4 separate regions of the Homo sapiens genome follow, and all the other regions are linked to region 1. Evidence: promoter capture Hi-C in human tissues and cell types (Jung and others, 2019). All regions are on one chromosome and are shown on one strand. Each heading gives the region's core, a stretch centred on a gene start or on the middle of the fragment in contact. The rest is flanking DNA. Distances are from core to core; before and after follow the strand shown.

Region 1 (6,445 bases), core at 128-2,627:
AACCATATGTTAGAAGGCCTCCTAGTACCTCAAAAATATGTGGGGTGTCTGAGATTTCATGAGCTAGGTTTCGTTATCAGGTATTGTTGACGTTACCCCTTGTAACCACAGCTCTAGGAATTGGTTTCCCAGTGTAACAGGTGGGAGAGATAGGGCCATATAGAGCAAAGGAGATGGGAAAATATGGGCTGAAACCTCAAGGCGTCACATGTACTGTACTCACTGCAATCTTCAGAACAAGCTAGAAGAGAATCAGAAAGTTCTAATGAGTTTAAAACCAGCTACAGTTTGCCATATTTATACCCAAGTAGTCTTTGTTTACCCTTTAAGTTCCAGTTACCTCTCCACCCATTCTAAATAACTCTATTATGAACTTGCATTTCTTCCCTCATCCCGCATTTTCTATTCCCTTCATATAACTTCAGTGCTGTTATATAGAAAGTTTTACTTACCAATTTCAGAGAAGTTCTTTAGTAATTCTTTCAGTTTGGATTCCAGGTTTTGGCAGACATCGAGAAGCTTGCCTTGATAGATAAAGACACCTAAGAGGGAGTGGAAGGGGTGTCAAAAAATAGAAGTAGCTCTTCCCTTCAGAAGTTAATTATGTCTGTTTTTATCTTTGTTTTCCCCAGCCAAATTTTCTGAGGCTTGCTTGAGCAATACAAACTTTTAACATTGAAACAGTACCTCACCTTTCCATGTTTCATTGCCCAGTTTATAAAATTCATTCTTCAACCATGTTCTCAACTTAACAACCTGCTGAACAGCTAGAGAGGGAGAGTAAAGGTACATGTAGGGGAATAATTACATCTATGCAGGAAGTTATGTAGACCCAGGTGTTCTCTTCCTTGCCTCCCTTCTCCGTTTAAGCCCCTGGACTCTCAGGAACTCAAGCTTCCCTCACCCAACACCCGAAGCCTCTTGTCACTGTGGGAGACCTTGAAGCTTAAATGAATCATCTCCTTAATCTGCCGTTCAAGCAGCTGAGTTCGGCCGGGGACTTCTGAAGGTATCAGATTTCCCAGCAAGGAGCCAACATCCTCTATAAATTTGGGGTCACATTCTAAACAGCCTTTGACTCCATGGAAGGCTGAGAGGGGCAGGAGCAGGAATAACCACAGGTCACCCATTTCTTTCTTCACCCCCGCTCCCCGACAGCAGGTTGTCCTGGCAACTAGTTCACTTAGTTCCTTTTCCTTCAAAAATCCGGGAATGAGAGCCTGGTTCTGGATAGTCTGACTCCACTTTTCCCGCTGTTTCCATCCCACTATCGGGCAATCTTTAGTTGTTTAGTTTAATGATCTTTAGTTGTTTACTGACTATTATCCTTCATTCTAGGAGAGGGAACTGCCAGCTGGGGAGCGGATACCTGAGTTCTGAGTGTAGAACACCAAGAGATAGAGAAGCCTTGAGCTCACACAAGCAGAGTTCTGTGCAGGGAGATGTCTCAGAAAAAGTGTTTCTTTAGCCCTCTCCCTGACTTGCATCCTCATGAGACTCTTAAACCCCCTCCTGACCTTCAGAGATGTTTATCATCAGAGATGGGTTATGGAAGTGATCCTATAGAACCTGAGAGATTGCTTAACTCAAACTCTGCTTCTACATTAGAGGTAAGAAAAGCCAAGAATATTGAGTTTCTTGCGGGTCTCGGTCCCTACTGGGGCAGTATTGTTGACAAATACTGGTGGCAGTATTGTTGAGAATAAAGGAGTGAGCATTTATCTAGAATAATATTTGGCAATTTTAATAGACAGTAACATATTTCAGGCTACATTTATCACTAGGATGATTTTCTAGACATGACTTGTAATCTTTTCCTTTTCTTCTTGCTTTCTTCTCTTTTCTTTCCCTTCCTTCCTTCCTTCCTTCCTTCCTTCCTTCCTTCCTTCCTTCCTTCCTTCCTTCCTTCCTTCCTTCTTTCTTTCTCCTTTTCTTTTCTTTTCTTTTCTTTTCTTTTCTTTTCTTTTCTTTTCTTTTCTTTTCTTTTCTTTTTTTTCTTTTCTTTTCTTCTTTCGAGATGGGATTTCACTCTTGTTGCCCGGGCTGGAGTGCAATGGCATGATCTCAGCTCACTTCAACCTCCGCTCCCGGGTTCCAGTGTTTCTCCTGCATCAGCCTCCTGAGTAGCTGGGATTACAGGCATGTGCCATCATGCCTGGCTTATTTTGTATTTTTAGTAGAGATGAGGTTTCTCCATGTTGGTCAAGCTGGTCTTGAACTCCCGACCTCAGGTGATTCACCCGCCTCGGCCTCCCAAAGTGCTGGGATTACAGGCATGAGCCACTGTGCCTGGTGATTTCTAATCTTTTTATAGCATTCTTCTTATAGAGAGTGTGGAGTCAGATACTAGAAACAATAGTTGAGGAATACTGAGTGATGAATCCAATAAAGTTCAGATCCTTTAACAAGTGCATTCTAAAATACTGGCAAAGTATGTAACATATAAAAACATAGTGGTTATCATGGGCTTCCCTCTCAGACCACCTACAAGGAAGATGTCCAAATAAACATGTTCTCCTTTCAATGGCCCTTTGAATAAAAATATTCTGTGTTATTTGAATAAATTGAGGTTGCTTTTCAGACTCTTAAGAGCACTGGTTACCTCTTTTCTAATACATTGCCTGTATGGCTGTGACCTTCTGGAAACCAGGAAACACTGGCAATCTACAGGGTTAGTGGTAGAATTTATATTTAAGATATGGGGTGATCACAGTGGAATGTTGTGCGGGAAGTTAAAAGAATTACCATTACTTATACGTCTACCAAGTCCATGTGACAGACATTGTGCTAAACATTTCAGGTAGTCACAAATTCTCATGGCGCGCAATCCTTTGGAGATTGTCATTTCTATGTTACTGGTAAGAAATTGAGACTCAGAGATGTAAAAGAATCCTCGCTGGAAGAATAATTTAGAGTATGAGTTCAGGGTTCAAGCTCATGTCTTGTGTGGTTCCAAACCCTATACATTTTACTGCCTCTCAACAACAACTTGCTGGGATAACACAGAAAATTATCTCTTGGAATTTGATAAGTCAAAATATGAAGGCCAATACAGATTACTTGATTTATGGTTTAAATTAGCATATCTCTGCTCAGATTTTTTTTTTATTCCCTTGGCTAGATGATCTCATTTTTAGAGGATTTCCCAAAAGATTTTCACATGCTGAGGTCTGAAGGCAAGTGAGCTAATGGGATTAAATTAACTCTAGATAGTAAAGTTGAAAACTAAAGGGGCTAAAAAATTTGGCAGAGAAGTGGCAAGGTATGAGAACAAACTGTGCTTCAAGAAAAGATATGCATTATAGATATTTTCCAGTCAATGATCCATACCTTCACTTAGACAGTTCAAAGAGTATCCTCTGACACATTACTGAATAATTCAATGGCACATTACTTTAACCCAGACTTAGAGGTCCATCTATCATTTTTATCATTGTCTCACCCTTCCAGCTTAAATTTCAATCAGGTTTTTAGAATGAGAGAAAAAAAATGGCTTTTGGATAGTCTTAGAAAGGCTGGAAAAAGGCAAGTCACTTATTAAGACAGATAGAACTTGTAATTGAAAGAATACATATATCCCATGTAAAAGGAATAACAAGGAAGGAAATCTCAGTCTCATGGAGTAAACAGTAGAAAGATAACACAATGTGCTAATGGTAAACCCAGAGGTACACATCGAGGTTTATGAGAAAACAGAGCAGTACTAGCTAAGTTTAGAGAAATTTTTATAGAAAGGCTGGATCCAGGAGATTAGAGACAGTAATTAATATATCATGATGAGTGAGAATCCAATAGTGTTCAGGAACCTTTAGGGGGAACACTCTAAAAGTACTGATGGTGAAATGTATAACATAAGAAAATAACCACAATTATCATGGGATAGCACTTTGAATTTCGTAAATGTAAAATATTTGAGCTTTGGGAAAGAAGAGCTGTCTGGAAATTGATTAATAATGTAATGATCACATTACTTAATTAAAATAATAATGCCTGTGTCTGGAAAGCAAAAGGCTAACACCCAAACCCTAGAATAATTAAGTTAGTATATGGTTTGGCTTGGCAGGAAGAGCTATGATTTATAGTCAGCACAAATCTGCAGACTAGCTAGCTAAACTCTGTTTAAAATAGTATGAGACAAATAATGGCACATACATTCATAATATTTTTACCAACTACATAATGACTCATTTGTAGTTGTAACATAGATATTCATGGGTAGTTGTTTTTATACTAAAACACTAGCAATTAGAGAGTCCCTCCTTTAAGGGCTAGAATCAGTTGTTTGGTACCATTTGGCCTTTGTTACAAATCACATAAGGTACTGAGGTTTGAAATTTGAAGAACAAGTTTCATAAAGAGCAAGATTTTTACAGAAATTCTCCCTCATCCCATGGTAGATCTGATTTCTCAGATTTATTAACAAAAATAATGAATCCTTATCCTCAAGCTTCTTACAGCCATTTTTCTGATGGATTATTTATGCCATTGAGCTCTGCTCTATTACCCATCCCTACCTATCACTTCACAGGATTCCTTAAAAGTTTGGCAAATAATTTAGATACCTTTTATAGTCACATGCAGTTAACTACATTCCTGACTGTAATCTGAGATCAAGAAGCCATTACTTGACATTTGGCCATGTTATAAGCTATATTTCTAGGTAGTGTAATAATCGTATTTGAAATAATTACTATATACCAGACATTCCACATGTAGAATAAGTTTAATTTTCTATATACCTCCCCATTTATATTCCATTGTCATTAAGCTAATTTATTTCCTCATATTTCACTTATCCTTTAGGAATAGTCATAAGGGTGGGTAAATTATAGGGTAGACTAGAAGATTTACAATGAATCTTTAACAGGAAATGAACTAAAAAGCTAAACACATCAAGGCGATTGTGGGAAGAATGAGGGGAGGAGGGTAGCGGAAGCAGAAGATATGTGTCACAGCTTATTTTCTCTCTATACTAGAAATGTTGAGTTAAATCCTCATATTCCATGAGCTTTTGCCCTGTTCCCTTTAAGGGCTTTTACAGAATAGGTTAATAGAAAGGGCTCGTGAGACGATGTCAGTTCCTATGTGGCATGGAATGTCTTAAGATGCTTTCACTGGGTGCTGGGGAAGGATGTACAACTCAACTCAGGATCTGACTGGCACCTTTGCTGGCATATCACCAAGGCTTCAGGTAAAGGGACCCTGTGTAACAGCCGGAGAGCAGACCTGGTACCAGGGTCAGGAAAGGAAGTGGAGTCTGCAGCAAGCGTCAGGGCCTTGTTGGGCCAAATCATTAGGAAAGACCACCAGTTACTGATGCAACTGAGAGAAAACAGGTTGAAAGTGCCCCATGTGCAGAGTTTCTCAACAAATACTATAAATAGATTTAGGAATGGTATTAGGTAAAGTTACATCTTCACCTTGGAAGATACCAACACACTGTCAAAAACTAAAACACACGTTAGTGGAGAAATTTACTGCACAATTTACTGAGAGGATAAAAAATCAGGAGTTTTTAAACCCCTCTCTAGAAGGAGAGGGAGTCCATGGTGGTTATATTTACTACATTTTCACACGCTAGATAGGAAGGATTGAGTCCATGACTGGACTTGTAGTTGGTTAAAACAAGCCTGGATTTTGGTGATTATGAATTTGTTTTAACCTGGCTCAAGAAGGTCTAGGGTCCCAGAGTTACTCAGACTTCATAGTTTCTTAACAATTTCGGGAGGTTAAAGCTAGCTGGCATGAAACATAACAGTTTTGATATGTTGTAGGCAAACGCTACTGTAAGTGAAAAACTTTCTTCTACATGAGACACATCCAAGACAATGACCCCTCAACCACACAGTGCCATGAGGTAACATCAGCTCCTACCTCCCCATTCTTACATCCTGTTTGGAAAGAAACAAGAGGAAAAATGTGAAAGAATGATTCTTCCAAAAGAAATGGAGTTATCTAAAAAAAGTGTTTAAATTATTTGGTGAGATTAGGCTTATTATATTATGCTAATATTGCTTTTTATTTTTTACCCAAGGAGGTGAAAAGATGTTCAGAGAAAGCTAAGACCAATAGACTATGAGGAAGCTATGTCTCTTTCGTGTATCTGAGAGCAGTGTGAAAAAATGTGTGACCTTGCAACATAAATGTCATATTTTATTCTCAAGACAAGCTTGCATGACTATTTCCATTTTATAAAATACAAGCCTGATGTTTGGAGCCATTAAAGGACTTGTCCAAGGTCACACACTTAGTCGGATAAAGATTTGGGGGTTGTAACACAAATTTGTCTGCCTTCAAATCCATGTTCTTTCTAAAACACCAAAATTTCTTTTCTGAAGAGAGTTAATCCAAGGTCACATCATCATTGCCTCAGAGTAGCAAGAATAGGTACTCTTATGAAATTATATTTGAAAAAAATAGAAAGATGTTGTGTTCTTTTCATTCA
Region 2 (6,606 bases), core at 3,265-5,764, 35 kb after region 1:
GTCTTGTGCCAGTTTTCAAAGGGAATGCTTCCAGTTTTTGCCCATTCAGTATGATATTGGCTGTGGGTTTGTCATAGATAGCTCTTATTATTTTGAAATACGTCCCATCAATACCTAATTTATTGAGAGTTTTTAGCATGAAGGGTTGTTGAATTTTGTCAAAGGCTTTTTCTGCATCTATTGAGATAATCATGTGGTTTTTGTCTTTGGCTCTGTTTATATGCTGGATTACATTTATTGATTTGCGTATATTGAACCAGCCTTGCATCCCAGGGATGAAGCCCACTTGATCATGGTGGATAAGCTTTTTGATGTGCTGCTGGATTCGGTTTGCCAGTATTTTATTGAGGATTTTTGCATCAATGTTCATCAAGGATATTGGTCTAAAATTCTCTTTTTTGGTTGTTTCTCTGCCTGGCTTTGGTATCAGAATGATGCTGGCCTCATAAAATGAGTTAGGGAGGATTCCCTCTTTTTCTGTTGATTGGAATAGTTTCAGAAAGAATGGTACCAGTTCCTCCTTGTACCTCTGGTAGAATTCAGCTGTGAATCCATCTGGTCCTGGACTCTTTTTGGTTGGTAAACTATTGATTATTGCCACAATTTCAGCTCCTGTTATTGGTCTATTCAGAGATTCAACTTCTTCCTGGTTTAGTCTTGGGAGAGTGTATGTGTTGAGGAATTTATCCATTTCTTCTAGATTTTCTAGTTTATTTCCATAGAGGTGTTTGTAGTATTCTCTGATGGTAGTTTGTATTTCTGTGGGATCGGTGGTGATATCCCCTTTATCATTTTTTATTGCGTCTATTTGATTCTTCTCTCTTTTTTTCTTTATTAGTCTTGCTAGTGGTATATCAATTTTGTTGATCCTTTCAAAAAACCAGCTCCTGGATTCATTGATTTTTTGAAGGGTTTTTTGTGTCTCTATTTCCTTCAGTTCTGCTCTGATCTTAGTTATATCTTGCCTTCTGCTAGCTTTTGAATGTGTTTGCTCTTGCTTTTCTAGTTCTTTTAATTGTGATGTTAGGGTGTCAATTTTGTATCTTTCCTGCTTTCTCTTGTGGGCATTTAGTGCTATAAATTTCCCTCTACACACTGCTTTGAATGTGTCCCAGAGATTCTGGTATGTTGTGTCTTTGTTCTCATTGGTTTCAAAGAACATCTTTATTTCTGCCTTCATTTCGTCATGTACCCAGTAGTCATTCAGGAGCAGGTTGTTCAGTTTCCATGTAGTTGAGCGGCTTTGAGTGAGTTTCTTAATCCTGAGTTCTAGTTTGATTGCACTGTGGTCTGAGAGATAGTTAGTTATAATTTCTGTTCTTTTACATTTGCTGAGGAGAGCTTTACTTCCAAGTATGTGGTCAATTTTGGAATAGGTGTGGTGTGGTGCTGAAAAGAATGTATATTCTGTTGATTTGGGGTGGAGAGTTCTGTAGATGTCTATTAGGTCCACTTGGTGCAGAGCTGAGTTCAATTCCTGGGTATCCTTGTTGACTTTCTGTCTTGTTGATCTGTCTAATGTTGACAGTGGGGTGTTAAAGTCTCCCATTATTAATGTGTGGGAGTCTAAGTCTCTTTGTAGGTCACTCAGGACTTGCTTTATGAATCTGGGTGCTCCTATATTGGGTGCATATATATTTAGGATAGTTAGCTCTTCTTGTTGAATTGATCCCTTTACCATTATGTAATGGCCTTCTTTGTCTCTTTTGATATTTGTTGGTTTAAAGTCTGTTTTATCAGAGACTAGGATTGCAACCCCTGCCTTTTTTTGTTTTCCATTTGCTTGGTAGATCTTCCTCCATCCTTTTATTTTGAGCCTTTGTGTGTCTCTGCACATGAGATGGGTTTCCTGAATACAGCACACTGATGGGTCTTGACTCTTTATCCAGTTTGCCAGTCTGTGTCTTTTAATTGGAGAATTTAGTCCATTTACATTTAAAGTTAATATTGTTATGTGTGAATTTGATCCTGTCATTATGATGTTAGCTGGTGATTTTGCTCGTTAGTTGATGCAGTTTCTTCCTAGTCTTGATGGTCTTTACATTTTGGCATGATTTTGCAGCGGCTGGTACCGGTTGTTCCTTTCCATGTTTAGTGCTTCCTTCAGTAGCTCTTGTAAGGCAGGCCTGGTGGTGACAAAATCTCTCAGCATCTGCTTGTCTGTAAAGTATTTTATTTCTCCTTCACTTATGAAGCTTAGTTTGTCTGGATATGAAATTCTGGGTTGAAAATTCTTTTCTTTAAGAATGTTGAATATTGGCCCCCACTCTCTTCTGGCTTTAGGGTTTCTGCTGAGAGATCCGCTGTAAGTCTGATGGGCTTACCTTTGAGGGTAACCCGACCTTTCTCTCTGGCTGCCCTTAACATTTTTTCCTTCATTTCAACTTTGGTGAATCTGACAATTATGTGTCTTGGAGTTGCTCTTCTCGAGGAGTATCTTTGTGGCGTTCTCTGTATTTCCTGAATCTGAACGTTGGCCTGCCCTGCTAGATTGGGGAAGTTCTCCTGGATAATATCCTGCAGAGTGTTTTCCAAGTTGGTTCCATTCTCCCCATCACTTTCAGGTACACCAATCAGACGTAGATTTGGTCTTTTCACATAGTCCCATATTTCTTGGAGGCTTTGCTCATTTCTTTTTATTCTTTTTTCTCTAACCTTCCCTTCTCGCTTCATTTCATTCATTTCATCTTCCATTGCTGATACCCTTTCTTCCAGTTGATCGCATGGGCTCCTGAGGCTTCTGCATTCTTCACGTAGTTCTCGAGCCTTGGTTTTCAGCTCCATCAGCTCCTTTAAGCACTTCTCTGTATTGGTTATTCTAGTTATACATTCTTCTAAATTTTTTTCAAAGTTTTCAACTTCTTTGCCTTTGGTTTGAATGTCCTCCCGTAGCTCAGAGTAATTTGATCATCTGAAGCCTTCTTCTCTGAGCTCGTCAAAGTCATTCTCCATCCAGCTTTGTTCCGTTGCTGGTGAGGAACTGCGTTCCTTTGGAGGAGGAGAGGCGCTCTGCGTTTTAGAGTTTCCAGTTTTTCTGTTCTGTTTTTTCCCCATCTTTGTGGTTTTATCTACTTTTGGTCTTTGATGATGATGATGTACAGATGGGTTTTTGGTGTGGATGTCCTTTCTATTTGTTAGTTTTCCTTCTAACAGACAGGACCCTCAGCTGCAGGTCTGTTGGAATACCCTGCCATGTGAGGTGTCAGTGTGCCCCTGCTGGGGGGTGCCTCCCAGTTAGGCTGCTCGGGGGTCACGGGTCAGGGATCCACTTGAGGAGGCAGTCTGCAAGTTCTCAGATCTCCAGCTGCGTGCTGGGAGAACCACTGCTCTCTTCAAAGCTGTCAGACAGGGACACTTAAGTCTGCAGAGGTTACTGCTGTCTTTTTGTTTGTCTGTGCCCTGCCCCCAGAGGTGAAGCCTACAGAGGCAGGCAGGCCTCCTTGAGCTGTTGTGGGCTCCAGGCAGTTCGAGCTTCCTGGCTGCTTTGTTTACCTAAGCAAGCCTGGGCAATGGCTGGCGCCCCTCCCCCAGCCTCGCTGCTGCCTTGCAGTTTGATCTCAGACTGCTGTGCTAGCAGTCAGAGAGATTCCGTGGGTGTAGGACCCTCCGAGGCAGGTGTGGGATATAATCTCGTGGTTCGCGGTTTTTTAAGCCGGTCTGAAAAGCGCAATATTCGGGTGGGAGTGACCCGATTTTCCAGGTGCGTCCGTCACCCCTTTCTTTGACTCGGAAAGGGAACTCCCTGACCCCTTGCGCTTCCCAAGTGCGGCAATGCCTCGCCCTGCTTCGGCTCGCGCACGGTGCGCGCACCCACTGGCCTGCACCCACTGTCTGGCACTCCCTAGTGAGATAAACCCGGTACCTCAGAAGGAAATGCAGAAATCACCCATCTTCTGCGTTGCTCACGCTGGGAGGTGTAGACCGGAGCTGTTCCTATTTGGCCATCTTGGCTCCTCCCTGTCACATTTTCTTAATCCAGTCTATCATTGATGGACATTTGGGTTGGTTCCAAGTCTTTGCTTTTGTGAATAGTGCCTCAATAAACATACATGTGCATGTGTCTTTATAGCAGCGTGATTTATAATCCTTTGGGTATATACCCAGTAATGGGATGGCTGGTATTTTTCAGGTAATTCTTAACTGTAAGCATAGGATTAATTTTCTTGGCCATCATTCTCTGAGTCATTGAAAACATAGTTTGGTAGTCACTCCAATTGAGTTAAAGGATTTTCAGTTTCATTGGGTAAAATCACTATAATTCGAAACACCATTATTAATAGACACTCTAAAGACACTCATCAACTTTTTAACACATCGAGCCTCGTACCATTATAAAAGAAGAGTCAGTTTCAAAGTTTAACAAATTTTGAATCTGTGACCACTATTTGCATCTTATATCTATGCTCCTAACAAAAGGCAACCAAATTAAATGGAGGATTTATTATAAGGTCACTGTCATTGTATACTTGTATTTCCGTGTAACCTGTGATAACTATTTCTTGTGTTCACTACCTCTGACTGTTTTAAGCGAAAGCACACAAGGAACGTGTTAAAGGTCAGTTCAATATTGCTATGGAGTGTGATAACATTTGTACCTTAAAGAATGTCTAACATTGCAACTGATTTTTTTCTACAACTTTAGAACCTTTTTCATTATTCTAATATTACAGCCCTGTTTGTTGAATGAAGGAATGAGTGAATAAATTGCATAGCTTCTCATTCTGCAAATGCATGATAAATTGTAATTGAGGAGAGACCACTTGTTCTACCAGTTTTGAGTTAATATAGATCTGACTCTGCTATTTTCATAATCATAATTATATTATCATAGTTCCCAGGAATTATATCTATGTGAAATTATAAATAATAGTATTTTGGTGTAAAAATTTAGATTTCTAGCCCAGAAAACAATATTAACAAATGAAGAAACCCATTAACTACTGCATTTAAAACTTCATGTTTAAAGAAATGATCTATTAATATATTAACATATTTTGCTGAAATGTGAGAAGGGTCCCATAGTTCTCCAACAGTGTTATTTTAGACAATCATCATATATAAGAAAATCTATGAAAAAAAGGACAGCAAAATTACAAATAAATTAGAAAACTATGCTTGTGAGCCTGGAAGCACATATCACATACCTGACTATGCCATTAACTATCTGTACTTTTTATAAACATAATTGTTATCTTTTGTAGTCTCAGAAAATTGAGTTAGGTAATTTTTTGCATTCCTGTTTATTTTCTAAAATTTCCATGACTCAGAGAACACTTTCTCTATGCATTGTGAGCTACTTTGGATTATACAACTAACCAAATGGAGTTTGAAAGTATAATGAATTAGGTTTTCTCAGTTAGTGATATTCATTCTAAAATTTGCTTCTATTAATTTCTACTCAGTAGCCCTTTCATATTCACCCATAGATCATTTCTTAAAGTTCTAGAAAAAGGGGGCCCAGGTAAAAATTCATGATTTAGCTTAATAAAATATTCCTCAACTTTATCCTATGCATAAATAACATGCATAATTTTTGAGTTACACCTCTTAGATTTTTTTTAATAAAACTAAGCCTAGAATTTAGCCTTTTATGATTTATGATAAGTCTAGGTCATTCCACTACTAATTCTTACCTTTAAAGCATCAGTGCCTTTTGCTATCTGCTCCTTGGGATTCATTTATTAAGAGGCTGAGATGTGAACATCTGTCCATGTTCCAACAGAACAAATCATTCCAAATAACCTTTCTAACCCAAAGTTCAATGGATGAGGCAGACAATGATTTATATTTGAGGAATTTTGCTTTGCTTTTGCAACAAAAGCCATTCTTTTACTGTACTCTCAACAACTGCTTGTATTGCATTAATCAGACCTTAATTAACATGGAAGAAAGGTGATAATTTACATTTATTTCAGATTGACACATTGTACTTTATTTAGCAAATGAGACCTGTCAGGCACTGCCAGTGATGCTTAGATTGAAGACAGAGTGTCGAAAATATGTCTTCCACCTGCCTGTGCCTTTGTAGGAGGGAGCTTTCAGTATGTTTACACAGGGATCATTAGATGTACCTCATGCTAAGCTTTCATGAATCTTTGAATAAGAAATGCTCAAAGGTCATCAGGTATGAAATATTTTATAATGACACAGTGCCGTAAGGCATGAGAAACTGTGATTTATTCTCCAAAGTAAACTCAAAAGAGGATAAAGGAAAGAGAACTGCATAGGACTCAAAATAACTTCAGATCTATCAAAAACAGAAGAGAGGAGAGCTGAAACTATGAGAATAGAAGCTGAGGAAAAGTTTATTTACTCAGTGTCATTGTGCAATTTAAAGTAAGAGTTGGAGGACGGAAGTAAATAGACGACCGCTGTAACTGATCAACTTCTAAGAACAATAAGTGACTATCAAATGTCAGGAAGAGAGGAGAATTTAGGAATTATGAAAAACAGTCTGCTACGGGATGAAAACTGTTAATTAAAGAAGATAAGTAATTTCTCCCATTCTTGCTTTTGATTGGGCATATAGGTAAAGGTTGAATTTGAAATATAAGTTTAAGATAATTGAGAAGAATGAAGCATATAGTTAAAGCCCATATTCTGCTT
Region 3 (6,457 bases), core at 3,406-5,905, 55 kb after region 1:
ATCTCCTCTATACAAATATTTTCTTCCCACTGTCCCTTTGTCCCCGACCTCCAATAATTACTTACACAGGAAATAGCAGCTAGGGCTAGCCAAATAGAAAATGTAATGAGGGTAAAATCTTTCTCCAGCACTTGGTTTTCTTTTCTAGATATTTTCCCCTCACCCGGTCTTCTCAAATATCCCTTCCACTTGAGGACCCAATGACTCTATGCATTCTCTTATTCTTTCCTAAATATTACAGTGACTAAGACTTATTAGCTACTTTAGAACTTTAAACAGATCATTCATTCTCTTTGAATAGAGGTTTTTCATCAGTTCAAGGTAGTAACATGTATCCTTCATTGAGTTGTAAGAATTTCAAAAGATAACAGTGGAGTGTGATACATGGTTAAAGTTTAAGAAATTTCCATTAGCAAATGTAAAGCACTAGGAAGAGATAAGTATCAGGTTCCTTCCTGCACTTCATTTTCTACTGTTCTTGTGTTTTAGGAGTATTTATGATTATTCAGCTAATGTTATTTATTCATAAAATAACTAGTTTTTATGCTTATATACCTTTACCTCATTTTTGGCAGAGAATAAAATGTATTATATATATCCTATTTCAAAACATATGGTTATTGAATAGAAGAAATTACCACATAAAATAAACTCTTGCATAAAGTTGCATGTTTATGAGGTCTTTGTTAATTGTCTTTGTTAACATTGTCTTTGTTAATTGTGTTGCTTCTACCTTATTTAGAATATTTTAAAAATTATATTTTAATGTCGAATATCACAATATCTATTGGAGTTTAAAGGTAATCATCACACACAGGTTTAAAACAGAGATTGATGGAGTTAGAAAAAAATGAAAATTAAAATGTGGATGACGTTACGCACACTGCTAAGTCAGTTTGCACCGTGGCCAGATAGTCTTCCTTCCCCACCCTCACTGAGTATGTACACTGGAAAAATCCAGCTAAGAGAAAACATAGGACTTGCAGCAGAAACATCCCTTCAGGTATCAGTGGGACTTCTAACTCATATTTTTAAGCTTGAAGAACAGTGGCAGAGAAATAAAACATAGATTTGACTCTACAAACCAGACCCTGAGTCCTGAGGAAGAACCAGGTTAATGGAAAATGAAGAATGGCAAGAAGAGCAGCCCAAAGAGTAAACCCCAGAGGGAGGGAGTAAAACTACATATGCCCAGTGCTTTTTGCTATCCTCAGAGGGGAATAAACAGGGGGATTACAAGAGAGAGAAGAGCATGTACATAGAGGAGAGAACCTGCAGAGCAGAGATAGAGTTAGGATTGTTCCAAGGCTATTGAAAAAAGTTCTAGATGAGAATTGATTGCTGGCTGCAGTGAAGTTATTAAAAAATGGTCAGATTTTGGATATATTTTAAACTTCGAGTCAGTAGAATTTGCTGATGGATACAGTAAGGAATATAAGACTATAAGAGAAAGTCTAGGATGACTCTGAAGTTTTGGACACATGTTAGGTTGGAATTTCTTTTTTATTATGTGTCAAATTTTATTTCTCTGCACATATCACAGTGTTTTTTATTGCTTATCAGTCTTTTAAAGTAAGTTGTTGTTTTATTAAAGGCACATCTTATTTTTAAATTAAAATGATATTACATGACTTTGTCAGAAAGGTCAATCACCAGCATTTTGTCTCTTCATCCCACAAGATTACTCCCAAGATGGTAACAGTTTTTCTACTATTTTTAAGATATTTTTTCTATGATATTTTTAAAATTACATTTAAAAATGTTAAAACATTACTTTCTTTAAAATAATGAAATTATATTTCATTTACTCATTTTAGTAACTCTTGATTTCCTGTTATGGTAGTTGAAGATTTAGCTTTCCACCCATCCTCACATTCCTGCTTTCCCTTTTCTCAGCCTTTTGACTAAGATTTCTTTAAACTCATTAATAGATTAATAGAAGATATTTTCATGGTGATGACTATGTAAATACAATTCACTTCTAAAGGACGTATTGTGCTATGATTACCTTTCTTTTCCCATTGCCTCCCTTCATCACTACACACTGGACTTAATAATTGCTTAATTTACGTTAGTTTCCTATACGTGTATGAACATTTTTCTCCAAATGCATTGATCTGTCAATAGGAAGGATTCCTCTTCCTTCCTATTTCCCAGTCTATATCGTTGAAGTCTAGGCTTGAAACAAAGATGTTATTTGTGTATTTCTCTCACTTCTCTTATTTTTTGTAATCCCACTCTCTGGATCTCATGTCTTCCTTTTAAGGTTTTCTGCATACACATCTTCTAATATAGTGTTTTTGAAACTTTAGCGTGCATCAGAATCACATGGATATCTTTTTAAAACAGTTTACTAGGTTTTAACCCCAGTTTCTGATTCAGTGTATCTGGGGTGAGGAGAGTGAATTTGCCTTTTCAACAAATTCTCAGGTGCTGCTGCTGATTTGGGCAATACACTTTAAAAACTATTCCAGGGCACAAGGGACATAAGATTTTGAGAGCTTCCATGTCTTTCTAGTTTAGCTAGTATGATAAATTGCGCTATTGCCTAAAACCCCCCATGCCTACTTGTATCCAAGCCTTTTGGGGTTTTTGTTTGTTTGTTTGCTTGTCGTGTAACTGCAATTCTTTCTACTAGAAGTGGAGTTCACTTCCCTGTTTTACTGGTGAGGGGTTTGGTAATGTTCTTTGCTTGGGCCAATGCTGTTTTAATAGATGGAACTCAAGCAAATGATTTATACTTGCTTGCAGGATGAGTTTCTCTTATGTTTTCCCCTTCAACAACAACAACAACAACAGTGACAACGAAAGTAAGAAAGAAAAAAGCCTTAGGTAGTGTTGTCATCTCAAAAATGAGAGACATCTGAGGCAAACCTAGCTGAGCCTAGCATGTAGAAGCTTAACCACAGATAATCTGCAGGAGCATGGGTGAAAAATATATGCTTGTTTATATAAGCCACTGAATTATCATGTAGTGTAACAGTGTGAAAGTAGCTAAATAATAGAAAGCCTGGGAAAGAATAATTTTCTCTCAGAGTGTTCATTTGTTTAAGAGCTTACAATTTTTCCCCTTATGGAACATTTTAGAGAATTCCCTTCAAATGATTTCTCTGAATTTTGCAATGATCAACACTGTGAAGGACCTTTTCTCATTTATTGTGCTGACTTCATGATTGGCCGTTTTATTCTAGAGATACAAATTCTTATCTCCCAGAATTTTCATATATTGCTATTATATTTTCTTCATGATCACCCAATTATGTTTTATTTGCTCTTCCTAGAACTCCTATAATCTAGATGTTAAACATTCTAGATTGAGTTATCTTTTCTTTCATATTTCTGGAATATTTCTGGAATCACTATTTCTGGAATCAGTATTTCTGGAATATTCCCTTGACTTTATCTTCTAAAATTGCCAATTAATTAAAAATAATAGACAGTTTTATCCCTAAATTCTCAGCATTCCTGGTTCTTCTTTGAACGTTTCTTATAAAGTCATATTTTCATTTTACAACTGCATTTTCATCTCACAACGGGCATTTTCTCTCTTCTTTCTGAGAATAATGAGGATCTATCTACAGTATCTATATATTTACTTTTTTTCTACTTTTTGTTTTGAGGGTTTCTTTACACCATTTTTTGCTTATTTATTGTGGGATCCCCTTTTTCATAAGTTGGTTATTTTTCTTACTGGAGGGCTTATTTGGACGATATCATCTTGGTAGCAGTGAAGCTTTGCTATAGGAGAGCAGGTTGTTAACTTAGGGTTTTGTTTGAGAACACTCAAAATTAATAGGAGTCTGTTTTTTTCTTTTTCTTTTTTTTTTTTTTAAATTCCCTAGTGTCACTTAGTTTCTTGTCAAGGAATCTTCCAGGCCAACTCCTGGGTATGTGTTGGTCAGATCAGGTATTATTGACGAGAATTTATGCCTGGCTGCGAGGATTCTGGGAATAGGTTAGAGAAAGATCCATTAACATGTTTCAGTTCAACATGTAGTTGTTCAATTTCTTTCTCTATTTTCAGCTCTATTCCTCAATTATGCCGTCAACTGAGTATGAGTCTGGGGTGTCCCCAGCTCAATTTTCTCAAAGAGGAGGAGGAGAGTGCCTTAGCTGTCCTTTGCCCTGCAAGGCATTTATATTATTATTTCCTTGATTGTTAAGCCTGTAATCATGTCTTCCCACATGCTTTCTGCCTTCTAACAACCAGAAATAACTTGCTTGCTATTTTCTGTTCTCTTGTTTTCTATCCTTGGGTTTATAATAATTTATCATCACTTTAGTGAATTCAAGGGTGGGAGTTGAGAGGAATTGGGAGGGGTAAATGAGCACCCGTGTTCAAGTAGAGGTATAATTTGTTAACTGTGTTAGCTGAACTATAATCTTCATGAAGAGCGGATGTGTAGCTACCTTATTTACAGTTCTATACCCATGATCTAGCACAGTGCCAGGCACATAGTTAGCACTTATTTAATACGTGTTGAATGAATGCTTCAAAAAGAAATATGTAATATTTAGATATCTGTTTGACAGAGTCCACGGATTTCCAATTCAAAGGAGAAAATGCAGAGATGTTGTGGAAAGCAGGCCAGACCATTATTTTTACCCAGCACAGTGGCATGGACAGACAGATAATTACTATTAAAAAATTCAGTCCGATTAGCCTTGCTCTTAGTTAACATATTTTGCAGGCACTCTTTACACTTAATTTTTTTCCAGGGAAAACATCCTTCTCTAGTTCAAAGATATATGGATCACATTCCTGGGCCATTGTGAAGTATTATGAAGTGATTCTTCTCTTTATTTTGAAAAAAATGGAAGGTCAAACAAATAATTTTTCTTTTTCAAATATTTGTGGTGTTTTGTCGTGGTAAATTGAGAGGTTATGCTCCATATCACCTGGTATGTAAAATATGATCCACTTAATTCTTAAAAGATAGTTAGCTTCTATTTGAACAAATATACTGTCCAGTAGCCTTGTACCTTGTGTTCTTGAAAAACACACGTGTGATTGTGAAATACTTTGGTAAAGAATGCATAAAGCAGAGACAGATCTAAATATTCTTTTAGTAAGATTAGAATTTCTCAGCATTTTTAATCTGGCACATATGAGAATATTGCTATGATGAACGTGCATGTATCAGAAAAGGTAAGTTACATTACTTAACTCTCTATTGTTTTTAAGGAAATTCTAAATCCTAATTTGGTTTAGGCCTTTAAACTAATGTCCATATAACCCAGCATGACTTATAAAATCTGTGATTATAGGCATGTGTTTATTAGTATGTGTTTGTATATCAAAACATTTATATGAGCAGGCAAATATTCTTCAGATAAATCATACCCTTCCTAAGTATTTTCCTCCAGAGAAGGTCACTAGTTTGAGAGTAAAAGTACATATATACGTGTGTGTGTGTGTGTGTGTGTGTGTGTGTGTGTGTGTATAACATATAGGTTTAAAATGAAAATTCCTTGGCTATAGAAAATATATTTACATGTATATAATAAATTGCTACAGTATTACAAACACCCATGCTTTCTTATTACCTGGGAAATCCAGATATTCCCTTTCTATTTCCATCTATACAATTCAGCTTGAAATCAAATCGCATCTATGAAAGAAAGAGAACAGAAGTCCTATTTTTATGAAAAGCAATGCCGAAGCCATGATGTGTCTAATTCACTTCTAAAAATTCTACTTAGGTGCAAGGACGTAGAAGACACTATAGTTTGCCTATTAGCTTTTGCTGTATACATAGAACCGAAATTAGTATGGCTAACACCCTGTGACTATGGCCATTCTTAATGACTCTTGTAATGCTTATGGATAAAACTGGTTCTCAATTATCACTCTGGTAATTGGGGCTGCATTTTTAGCATAAGCGAACACCATGGGAGGCCCAGAACTTCACTGTGGCACAGAACCCCCAAGCCTTCTCACTCTGTCCTTTGTCTTATAACTTGATCTTCATTTCATTCCAAAAACTTGTTCTGATTTCAGCAAATTTCTCTGTTCCTGGAAAAGTTGCCATTAATGTACATTAATTTACCATCATCTTCTGTGTATCTGTCCTTCCATTCTGGACTGTTAGCCCCTTTCTCCTTTCTAGTTTTCCATGATACGACCTTTATTCACTCTCCTCCTGCAGTAGCCTTTTCAAGATATTATTCCTAATGGATACAGATGCTCAAGTATGTAGACCTGCCATTCAATATGATACATATCAGGGGCACACTTTGTTTTCCTTGTACTCTGTCTGTAGACTCTAAGTCCTATAATTGCAGGAGCTTTGTGTATCCTCTAAATGATGTATCCTCAGAACCTAATGTAGTGTGTAGTACATAGTAGGCATTCATTACGTATTTGTTGTGTGAATAAATGCAATTGTTTGTGATTGTATTACATTTTGAACTTCCACATGCCAAGGTCTATTCCTTTAGTCCAGATACTAAGGCA
Region 4 (6,202 bases), core at 180-2,679, 52 kb before region 1:
TGAAACCCTCTCTCTACTAAAAATACAAAAATAAGTCGGGTGTTGTGGCAGGTGCTTATAGTCCCATTTACTCAGGAGGCTGAGGCAGGAAAATGGCGTGAACCCAGGAGGCGAAGCTTGCAGTGAGCCGAGATCACACCACTGCACTCCAGCCTGGGCACAGAGTGAGATTCCGCCTCAAAAATAAAATAAATAAATAAATAAATAAATAAATAAATAAATAAACAAACCATCTCTACTAAGAATACAAAAAATTAGCCAGGCATGGTGGCGAGCCCCTGTCATCCCAGCTACTTGGGAGGCTGAGGCAGGAGAATTGCTGGAACCCGGGAGGCAGAGGTTGCAGTGAGCCGATATTGCCCCATTTCACTCCAGTTTGGGCAACAAGAGTGAAATACCGTCTCAAAACAACAACAACAACAAACAACAACAACAACAAAGTTTCTACAATGCGATGAGAATAATGGCCACCAAATGCCCATCAAGAATTTCAAGAATTTAATGTCTTTACTAGTGGTATTCCATAATCATTTAAGGATTATCCATAGTTAAAATTTATCTGTCTCCATCTATTGCCATTGTAAACAGTGGAAACTCACAGCTATGCACTTGCATCTGTCACAGACATGCTATTTATTTCTTGTCCTGTCAACTTCACCTATTTTTATTTGCTAACCATATTATTCTCATATATCTAACACATTAGAATGGATGCTCGTTTGTGTACATCATCACTGAACATATAGAATGTTGTATATAGTCAAAAGCATTTTCCTAATGTAGACTTATGAGGAAACCAATCCATCTTACCCTTCTAGTGTGTCCTACTAATTCTATACAGGAGATTAGGCAGTCAGCTATTATTCTCTTATTGCACAGAATTTAGATTCCACATATCGTTCTGTTGGATACAACCGTTTGTCTTTGCAATAAAATCCCCACAAATATTTTATGGTCTGAATTCAATAGTGTTAAGAGCTTTCAATTTCTGAAGTCTTGCCCTGTTCCTTCTTAAACACAATAATCAATAAGCCCTGTGTCACAAAGTCACATGTTTTAATGGAATTACATTGATAACTCTTGCCAAAGTCTTCCTTTAAAACCTGAAATTCTGTGATAAATTCATGTGTGCCAGTAATGGTCATAATCTTTGAGTACTGTCTTTCTACAGTCTCTATTATATTGCCACTTATGCCATACCTTTTAAAAATTATTTTATATAGAGTTTCAAAGGTAAAACTTTTATATCTTTTCCGAATTAGTACTTTTTTTTGCACAAAAAATTAGAGAAAGATTTTCACTTATAATTTTGAGACAAAGTCCTAGTTTCCTAGCAAAATTGATGTAAAATTATTTGTTCTTGTGCTTCTGCTATTCCACCTCCTCCTTTTTTTGTCGGTCCTTTGTTTAGGAAATATTTTAATAGGTTTATGCATGAGCCATAAGTAACTGCCCCACAATATTCTTTATATAACCAATATTCTTTTATATATAACTCTTATATAATCAATATTCTTTTATATATAACACTTTGATGTATAACTTCTTGATCCTTTGAGTAGATTATTTTATACTGTCATAAGATTAGCATTTTTTTTTCTGTGACAGTGCTCAAGTTTGGACTAGTTGGTAGAAGTTTTGAGAAATAACAGAAATTTAAATAACCACGTCTATAATTTACTGAGTGCTTATATTCTAGACACTCCAGTGTTAAGTACTTTTCATATATTAATATATTTTAATCTTCACAGCCACGCAAATTTGCCTCCCACTTTATAGATGAAGAACTTAGAATTCAGAGAACTTAAATAGACTGCCAAAGGATAGCAATAACAAAAGAGACTATTTTGGAATTCTGCGGAATGGAAAAATGAACCTGAAAATCTAAACCATAGAAACAAAGCAAAAGTCCTAGAGAGGACTCTTAGTCACCAGTGAATTCTCTTCTCCTGGATTTTTGCTTACACCAAGCATTTCTTCCTCTTCTTTGTTGGCTATTCCTCCTCTGCACATTCTTTAATGGTTGGCTTCTTCTAGGGTTCAGTCCCAGATCTTCATTTCTGTTCAGTCTTGTTCATTAGGAGCTTTCATCCATCACATGGTTTTAAATACTATTTAAATGATGATAAACCTGAACTGTGTATCAGTAGCCCAGAGCTTTCCCATGAGTTCCAGACTCATAGTCAGCATTCAACCTGATATCTCCACTAACAAGCATATAAAATTGTATGGGTCCAAAATGAGTGCTAAACTTTTACCTCCCTGAAACTATCCCTCTCGCTGTTTCTCATATCGGTAGTATCACTACAATTACTCATTAATCAAATCAAAATTATATGAAGCATCCTTGCTCATTCTTTTTCCCTAACTCTCCCAGTAAAACATAAATTCTATGGATTCTATCTCTAGCATATGTCTTGAATCTGCCTATTTGTATTGATACTTCTATGATTATCTTTTCTTTTGCCCTTGCCCTTTCCTAACTGCAGACCTTACCCTGGAATGCTGTGTTCTCCTTGATCTTATTTTTTTTTGCTAGATTCTTCTCTCTGAGTTCTCAACGTGAAAGTAGACAGAATTTTTTCAGGACTTCTTTAGTCATCTTATATAGTCCCTTGCTCTCTTCCAATCCCATCCATTCTTGTCTCACCAACCTAAATGCTTATATTTCTACTTGTCATTATTTGTAGTATTTTGATAATCCTTTGTATACTTGCTTGCTAGACAGGCTCACACAAAGGCAGAGATGTGTTTCTCTGTTGTATCCCCAGTTAACAGCAGAGTATTTGGAAATTGTAAGTATTCAATATTTATTGAGTTTCAAAAAAACTCAATAAATAAAGCCTAATATAACGGTTGCAAGGATGAGGTGGGTGGTGAGGTATCATTACATGGGAATGAGGCACTTCAGTTTCGTTTGATAAACTCCTCCTTTTTAAAAAAATTGACTGTACCCTGTGGAATTCCTGAAGTGAGACTTAGAAGATTCTTGACACTGGCTATTTCAACTTTTTTTTTTTTTTTTTTTTTTAGTAAAAACATACTAAATCTTTATTGTCCAGCCAAATCCTCTTTTCTGCATTTAATGTTAATCTCTTCTTAAATTTTGAGTTCAGAAAAGCCTACTTTACGTTCCATGATCATCATTGCCTTTTTATGAATAGAAGTTTATAGGTTGCATTCATCTCTCTCTTCGTTACAAATTAACTGCCACAATGATTTATATAGAATAAGAAGCCTTATTATTACTACTAATTGTGGTACATGGTGGATGGTGAATGTATTTTTAGCTAACCTTTATTAGTACTTTGCTAAATATTTTACATTCTTCCTCTTGTAATTAATGCTATACCTCTTTTACAAAGAAGAAATATTAAATTACAAAGCTTGGAATGGCCAAACTGCAACTCAAGCCTACCAGAAGAAAATGATCTTAAATATTATGTTCTAACTACCCAGTACTTCCTGTCTATGCCTTCTCACCAGGAGTGCCTCGTATCTCATCATACAAACGGGTAGGAATGATATCACAATGAGAGATGAAAGAAGAATGTAAATTTCTTTTGCATAAAGGTGGAATACTCACAATTCCTCACCAAAGCGATGTGATTTTACATTCTAGTATTTGCTTTATTGACCAATTGTACCTTCATGTTAGCATGACAAAAACTTGAAATTAAATTCATCTTTAAACCATTTTACTTGTATTTTGGCTAAATAATAATATTTGAGGAGTCTGTAAGTTTAAAAGGGGAGACATCTAAATGGATTGCCCTTGCTATTAAGCAGGTTTTTCAAAGTTAGTCCTCAGACCATTTTGCTGGTGTAGGGCAAATTCCCCCTTCCCTTTGCAGTCAGACTAGATCAAAATTTCTGGTTCACCCAATTTTTACAGCAAATGTCTACAAGCTTACCCATTCACAAGTACTTTAATAATAACCTAAAGAATAATTTTGTCTTGTACATTTATAAAGGTGATGTGAGAATTTATTAAAAAGAGATCCCACACTATGGAACAAATATATTATTAAATATATATTATTTAGATAATTGGTTAAGCATAAGTATGTATGCAGGAAGGAAAAAGAATGTGTGTTTAATGTTAGCCACCAGGTCATGGTGACAGTAATTTAGAGAAAAGTGGCAGTGGTAGCTCTGTAATATATATTTTTGAATTTTCATTATTAATTTTTCTTTATCTTTTTTTTTTTTTTTTTTGAGACAGCGTCTTGCTCTGTTAACCAGGCTGGAATGCAGTGGCAAAACTATGGCTCTCTTCATCTTCAGCCTCCACCTCCTATTCTTAATCAATCCTCCTGCCTCAGACGGAACTATAGGCATGTACCATTGCGTCCAGCTAGTTGTTTTGTATTTCTTTTGTAGAGATGGAGTTGTACTGTGTTTCCCAGGCTTGATTCGAACTCCTAGGCTCAAGCCATCTTCCCACCTCAGCCTCCCAAAGTGGTAGGATTACAGGTGTGAATCACTGTGTGCAGCTTTGCATAATTCCTTGATGCACTTTTTTTTTTTTTTTTTTTAATTTGAGATGGAGTCTTGCTCTATCACCCAGGCTGGAGTGCAGTGGCATGATCTCAGCTCACTGCAATCTCCAATTTCCTGGTTCAAGCAATTACCCTGCCTCAGCCTCCTGAGTAGCTGGGATTACAGGCACTGCCACCATACCTAGCTAATTTTTTTGTATTTTTAGTAGACATGGGGTTTCACCATGTTGGCCAGACTGGTCTCAAACTCCTGACCTCAGGCAGTCCACCTGCCTCAGCCTCCCAAAGTGCTGGGATTACAGGTGTGAGCCACCATGCCTGGCCTATGCACTCCTTAAACCCCTATTGGTCTTCACAAATTCCTACTGAATTGTTGTTTAATTCATTTATTCATCCAACAAATATTTAATCTAGTTCTTCACTCAGCTAAGTGTTGGTCAATATTTTGTATCAGACATAAAGTGCTATTAAAGAGAGTCATTCTGCCTGTTTGCAATTGTCAAATATTTAATTTTTGAAGCCCACAGGTTTGTCATTTGCCACACACGGTTTCATCTTCTGAGTTTGTTTTTCCCTGGCTGTTTCTCTTTCAATTTGCTAGTGTATATAGTTGTTTTCATACTGGAGCTGCTAAAATCTTGGCTCTTTTCAAATGCAAAGATGCCCTGTATTTGCATTTGGAGAATGTTTGCAAAGAATTTTCTTCAGGATACGTCTTTACAAAGGACCTACTGTAGTTGTGTTATAAGGAATTTTATAGCAATTCCTGATTTTTAGGTATAAGAAGTATTATATCCCAACTGGTACGTTTCCTTGTAGATAACTACTCATTTTATAGAACGGTTTACTTTTGAGATGTTTTTCTTACTACTGTCAAAATAAAATAATGATGACTTCTTTTGAAATTTGAAATTTTTTTGTTAATGTTTTAGTCTCTAGTGCCTAGCATGTAGTAGGCACTCAAAAATATTAGTTGTGTGGTAGGATGAATAAATTAGCAAAAAAAAATCCCCCAATCTGCAGCAAAAACTCTTTTATAACACAATTCTGCATCTCCAAAGCTTTGTTAATTATCACATGTGTTTTGACAAAGAAATGGACCAGATAGAATATTTTATGCTTTCAACTAGAGTTTCAAAAAGTGACTATGCCATGTAATACAAAAGAGTAGATAGTATCCTTAAAATACGCACATGGAACTCTTCCAAATGCAGACCCTTGGAGTATTTTCAAATCTCCTTCTTACTGTATGTTTACATTCTAAAAAAAAAAAAAAAAATCCTATGACTTTTCTCAAAAATGAATGGCCACCTCTCTAACCTTTAACATGGTTGGAATTGATTGTTCCTAATCTTTATGGATATCTCCTTTAGTTTTGTTTTTATAGTTTTTCTAGAATCCCAGTGCCCTGCCGCAATTATTTCTGCAGGCCCTTTCTGCTCTTGACCCTTTCTATTTCTATTATTTTTTATCATTTTCTTTAGTCATATCATATACTTCCTCTGCACCTGGATCTTCTCTTGTCCTTGAACCTGGGCTAAAGAGAACACTGTAAATGCTAATGAATTCAGAGTTGTCTCTCTGTCTTTCCTTGAATCTTTCCCCTTGCTTTCTCCCTGCTGGCACTCTGCCTCTGTCTGAGTAGTTTACATTCCTGGAGGTCAAACTTCTTTGACTTTGGCTGCTCCTTTATTTGGGGT

Evidence for each region. Contacts are between HindIII fragments. The study calls those that stand out against the background at their distance.
Region 2: a fragment that was not itself captured here is called in contact with the fragment with the promoter of IZUMO3 in region 1 in 6 of the 25 tissues and cell types used here (H1 embryonic stem cells, dorsolateral prefrontal cortex, lymphoblastoid cells and 3 more).
Region 3: a fragment that was not itself captured here is called in contact with the fragment with the promoter of IZUMO3 in region 1 in 5 of the 25 tissues and cell types used here (H1 embryonic stem cells, aorta, dorsolateral prefrontal cortex and 2 more).
Region 4: a contact is called between a fragment that was not itself captured here and the fragment with the promoter of IZUMO3 in region 1, in 3 of the 25 tissues and cell types used here (H1 embryonic stem cells, bladder and spleen).

What each region holds. Positions count from the first base shown.
Region 1 is chr9:24,544,520-24,550,964 of GRCh38, forward strand. It overlaps IZUMO3 (IZUMO family member 3), which reads right to left and starts at 1,378. Exons shown (of 7, transcript NM_001365008.2): 1 at 905-1,378; 2 at 693-767; 3 at 453-542; 4 at 224-241. The coding sequence starts at 1,130. RefSeq lists an enhancer at 1-1,027. The HindIII fragment of the contact is 4,602 bases long and covers 707-5,308 here.
Region 2 is chr9:24,576,607-24,583,212 of GRCh38, forward strand. No RefSeq gene overlaps it. Among named protein-coding and RNA genes, the nearest start is that of IZUMO3, 34 kb to the left of the region's middle. RefSeq lists an enhancer at 3,051-3,678. The HindIII fragment of the contact is 6,530 bases long and covers 1,250-6,606 here.
Region 3 is chr9:24,596,652-24,603,108 of GRCh38, forward strand. No RefSeq gene overlaps it. Among named protein-coding and RNA genes, the nearest start is that of IZUMO3, 54 kb to the left of the region's middle. The HindIII fragment of the contact is 5,377 bases long and covers 1,968-6,457 here.
Region 4 is chr9:24,492,706-24,498,907 of GRCh38, forward strand. No RefSeq gene overlaps it. Among named protein-coding and RNA genes, the nearest start is that of IZUMO3, 50 kb to the right of the region's middle. The HindIII fragment of the contact is 4,435 bases long and covers 1-3,647 here.